2 separate regions of the Homo sapiens genome follow, and region 2 is linked to region 1. The links are contacts of gene promoters, found by promoter capture Hi-C in human tissues and cell types (Jung and others, 2019). All regions are on one chromosome and are shown on one strand. The core of a region is centred on a gene start or on the middle of the fragment in contact, and the rest is flanking DNA. Distances in the headings are between cores, read along the strand shown.

Region 1 (2,618 bases), core at 55-2,554:
ATTTCTTATTTTACACTGCAACTCTGTCCCTGATGGGAAGGGATCGCAGTTGCCTAACTGCCAAACTGCAACAACCCGGGAAGAGTGTGAGCCCAATTAGATTACAAGCCCTAGAGCAAAGGGGATCACAAACCTCCGGGTTTGCTAATCTGCTGGTGCGGAGTTCAGATCTCCGAAGCCTCCCTGGAGTATTTCTAGGACTCTTACCGCTTCCCTTATAACGCTGTGACCCCAGCGAGGATTTTTTTTTTCCTTTAAAGAAAAGCTAAACTGTGCAGTTACCGCAGGAGATTTAAGGAGGAGGAACTGGCGGGGGGAGGGGGGCATTCCGTCTATAAAAAGCGCCTTACAAAGTCCTGAAGTCTGGAAATGACAGCGGAGGATATAAAATAAAAAATTTTAACTCCGATCCAACTTGCCCACCACTCAAGCCTCTGCTTAAATTCGTTTTCTGAGAGTGGGAGAGAACTGACGAAACGATCTTTCCGTGGAAAATTCCAGTTTCGTGCAATCCCGCTTGAACACTCACACACACACACTCTCCTGTCTCACATACACACACACACACACACACACACACATACCCATTCCTTTCAGCTCTTTGTTGTTTGAGACCTTTTCTTCGCTTTTGTAACTGCTCTGAACCTCTTGTTTCTTTTTCAGAAGTAGACGGGAAGGCTAATTGTGGATATATGTAAGCACAACATTTTTTCAGTCATAACTGATAAGTTTCTGAAATGCCTTCTGCATTGCAAACATGTGCATCTTAATAGAAAACATTGCTTTTCTCAATCACTAGTTACAGCCTCACAGCACACAATCCAGGAGAAGGAAAACCTCTTTTCTTCTCTTTGAGAGATCTGCTTGGCTTATTTTCTTCTTTCCCCTTTGGAATGGGGGATAGGAAGGGCTTGAGGGGGTGTTACTAAAAAATTTTAAATGATCCATCGAAACCCCTGCCTTACCTTAGGAAATCGAGCCAGCCATCATGAATGATGGACGGATCCAGCTGCAGAGAGAGGAAGTTCTCATTGACTGTCCTGACTGGGTTCTTGGTGCTCACATCAAGTAGAATCAGGGTCTTTTCCTTCAAACCTGCAGCTCTGTCTACAGGCAAGGGTCTCCTGTCTCCAGCCTGGGAGGAAAGGGAGAGATGGAGCAACAGAGCCAAGTAGAGAGCCCCCGGGGCTAGGCACGCGGGGGGGCGGGAGTTGCTGGAGGGCATGGCTTCAGGGAAGGCACAAAGCACCCTCATTCAATCCCTCTGATTTAAACCTCTCTTCCTACTGGGTCTCGCTAGTGACTAATTGTCCTTATCTAAAGTGTGTGTCTGTCCGCCTTTTTCCCCCCTTTTTTTCCCTTCCTCCCACCACCCCCCCAACACACACACACTCTCTCTCTCTCCCGCTCTCTCTCTCTCTCGCTCGCTCGCTCGCTCGTTTTGTTTTTTTCTTTTTTTTTTTTAATTTTTTTTAATTTTTTTTTTCAGTGTTTTGGTGCTGGTGGAGCGAACTCACGCCCCTAGCCAGCCTTCCCCGTGACTCTTGCCAAGAGAACTCGTACACCGGCACCGCCCCTTTAAGAGATTTCTACTGCAGACATTTTTTAACTTTTTAAAGGTAAGGGGAGGGGAGCAGGCGGGAAGGAGGAGAAAAGGGTGGCGTTGTACCCTCCTAATTTAACCCTCTAGGGTCAGGAAGCAGAGGGAGGAATCCAAACCATGCCGTTGTACCGTCTGGGTACAGAGCAAAGGGTCTCGTTTTTACGTCCTTCCCTGAGAGGCTCTGGAGGGCGGTTCAAGCTCCGACTCCGACCCGAAAGCCCCAGCGCCAACCCGGGACGCGCTGGGATAGAGTTCCCACCGACAGCACGCTTGTTTCTCCTGACAGCGTCAGGCACTTCGTCCGCTCAGGGCCCTTTTCTGGTTGAAGCAGCAATACCAAGGGCGGTTAAGTTGCAGAGGGGTCTTGAGGCGGTGATTCCTGTCAAAGCATAGAGCCCTGAAGGACATTCCCCGAAGAGGAGCCCTGATCTCTGTGACGCGTTGGATAGCCACACCGAAGCATCCTCTGACCTCCATAGGGCAAAGAGTAGCAAGAAGGAAAAACATAGTGACCTGGTCAAGCAGCTTTTCCGATCCGAGGGCCAAAAGGGACATGCGCCCTCGCTCTGCTCTGCTCTTCCCGCAACCGAGGAATAAGCGTCTTGGGAGCGTCAATACATGCTGGCTTTGGCCAAGTCGAAGCTACCTGAGCTGTGCTTGGATAGTCAGGGCGGCTCTGCGTCCAACTGTGCCACTTCTTGGCCACTCTATTCTGCTGCACAGGTAGAGTCCCCCCTCCAGACCCTCCTGGAGGTCAATCCTATACTTAGCCCTCCTGCAGGGAAGTGCGCCTTTACAGTGCCAGATGGGACCATAGTGACACTTTCGGGTTTCCATCTCGGCCCCCAGTCAAAACCAGAGTCACATAGCCCTGGATGGGGAATAACAGCCGGAAGCCGCTGTGATGCACGACCCGCCGCTGCTCATTGAGCTTCCACCCCACAACAGCTTGCAAATTGAACTCTAGGTCCTATCCTGAAGCGCGGGAAAGGGATCAGGCACAGTTTGCTGCAGT
Region 2 (2,618 bases), core at 62-2,561, 420 kb before region 1:
CAGAAAGGAGATTCTCACTGTCCTTATCAACACTGGGGCAATCCTCTGTATTTGACACTCATCAGCCTCAACCAGTTCCTTCCTTGAAGTACTGAAAAAAAATGCAAATGGTAGGAGTTTCTAATATACCTTTAACAGTTTACAAATCTTTCCCCTTGCTTTTTCAATTAGGTTCTACAATCATTCTTTTTTTTTTTTTTTTTAACCAGTTCTCTTGGCCCCAGTTCACTTACTTGGAAGGGACTTCTTAGGAAAACATCATGTGGCCATTACCTTTTCCCATAAGGGTAAGATAATTCTTAAAGCTGATTTACATCCCCATCACCTTTAACTGACAACAGTGAAAATTCTTCAACACTCTTGCCTACTTTTGTCTTTAACCTAAATAATGAAAATGTTGACAGTTTAATTCTTTTTAAAAGAGCTTTTTGAGGAAGTTTTGGATAAATCTACAACAGACATTGGACAAATCCACTGGGCTCTCCTGATAAAGACTCAAATTGACCCAAACAAGCCCCTTCCTAATATCAGACAATACTCCTTAAATCCTGAAACTTCTGCAGAAATTAAGCCAATTACAGAAGAATGTAAAGCTAGGAATCTTGTGGCGCCTAGTACTAGCCCCTGTAGTACTCCTAACCTTCCTATAAAGACATCTCATGGACATGGATGGAGATTTATACAAGACCTATGAAACATTAATAATATTGTCACTCTTTGACACCCTGTCATTCCAAATCTCCATACTCTCATGACTTCCATCCTCACAGAATGTAAATTTTATAGTGACATACTTTTATATTACTTTTTTAAAAAAAGCATTCATGTGGACACTGGGAGTCAAATTTTATTTGTCTTCACGTAGGAAAGTCAACAATATACCTAGATAGTAATGTCTTGAGGGTATACCAAAAGCCCTCCCTACTTTTCAGATACTGAAGACATATTTAACAGACATGTCTTTCCCCCAAGGATTGACTCTCTTGCAGTATGTTGATGACCTCCTTCTTTGTTCCTTGTGAACATGATTATGTTCATCTCCTTAAACTTCTAGCAGACAAAATCCACAAAGTTTCCAGGGAAAGACTATAATTTACCCAGGACCATGTCAAACATTTGGGATACATGATATAAAACCAAGGACTTCTCTTGGATCCTGACAGACTTAATGGTATTTAAACTTTCCTCAATCTCAGACTGAGACTATTACAAAGGAGATAGGGGCTGGCAGGTTCTGTCAAAACTGAATACCTAATTTTCCTTTGATAGCATAACCCTTATATGCTCTTCAGAAATTTGACAACCCAGATCCCCTGGGCTAAAAAGAGAATGCCTGTATGGCCTTCTATCAAAAGAAGGATTTCTAAGTCTTCCTGCCTTAAGGTACCCCAATCATCAGCTCTCTTTCTTCATTTTTGTGCATGAAAAATAAATAAATGTGTTGGGGGTTCTTTACCCCAAAACATTGAGTTCAACACAGACCCATTGGCTATTATAGCCAGCAATTAGGTTCAATAGCTGACTCCCTCTCTGCATGACAGCTATATCAGCCACTACAGCTTTAATTAACTCTACAGAAGAGATAATCACGAACTCTACTCTCACTGTCTATGTTCTTCATGCTGTAGAAGCTTTGTAGAAACCGTAGAGAACTCTCATCATACTCAGTATTATTCTGAGCAGACTAACTTCTTATGAGATCTTGCTGTTGATTTCTCACATTCTTTCTCACTGCAATACTCTTAATCCAGTAACCCTCCTTCCCCTACCTGTTGATGAGACACATCATGACTGTTCAAATCTAAGTGGCCAGCTAAAACCTAAAGTCAATTTACATGAAATTCCTAGACCAAATACAGAACTTTCATGGTTTACTGACACATCATAAATGACAGATTAAAATATAGGAGAATATTGTGCTAGATATACTATAACTTTTCTTGAAGTACAGACATGCATCTCTTAAGTACGGGAATACATTCTGAGAAGTGCATTGTTGGGTAATTTCATCATTGTATGAACAGAATATTATAGAGTATACTTAAACCTAGGCTTCTACATACCTAGTTATATGATATTGCCTACTGCTCCTAGGCTAAAAACCTGTATAGCATATTACTGTACTAAATACTGTAGGTAATTATAGCATGATGCTAAGTATTTGTATATTTAAACATATCTCAACATAGAAAAGGTACAGTAAAAATAAGGTATTACAATTATGGGACACTGTCATATATGTGGTCAGTTGACAAAAATGTGCAGCACATGACTACATGCAGCACGTGACTATAGTTGAAGAAGCTGCACTGCTGATGGCTACTTCAGCCCAACAAGCAGAACTTTATGCCTTAATCAGGGCTTATATTCTGGTGAAAATAAAACTGCAAACGTTTACACCAACAGCCGTTACGCCTTTGGGGTTGTTCGTGATTTTGGTGTGCTTTGGAAACAAAAAGGATTTTTAACCTCCAGAGGGAACCAAATTAAAAATGGAACTTTTGTCAATAATTTATTAAATTCAATTCAACTTCCCTCTGCCTTGGCTATAATCAAAATTTCTGGGCACTCTAAATTAGAAAGGCTAAGAAAAACGACTTGGCTAATCATGCAGCAAA

The links. The method cuts DNA at HindIII sites, captures the fragments that hold promoters and counts their contacts. A contact is called where the count stands out against the background at its distance.
Region 2: a fragment that was not itself captured here is called in contact with the fragment with the promoter of HPSE2 in region 1 in 2 of the 25 tissues and cell types used here (bladder and lymphoblastoid cells).

The regions. Positions count from the first base shown.
Region 1 is chr10:99,234,548-99,237,165 of GRCh38, forward strand. It overlaps HPSE2 (heparanase 2 (inactive)), which reads right to left and starts at 1,305. Exons shown (of 12, transcript NM_021828.5): 1 at 966-1,305. The coding sequence starts at 1,255. RefSeq lists enhancers at 1,882-2,382, 2,383-2,618. The HindIII fragment of the contact is 13,698 bases long and covers 1-2,618 here.
Region 2 is chr10:98,819,236-98,821,853 of GRCh38, forward strand. The region is part of intron 3 of HPSE2 (heparanase 2 (inactive)); the gene reads right to left. Among named protein-coding and RNA genes, the nearest start is that of MIR6507, 100 kb to the right of the region's middle. The HindIII fragment of the contact is 7,751 bases long and covers 1-2,618 here.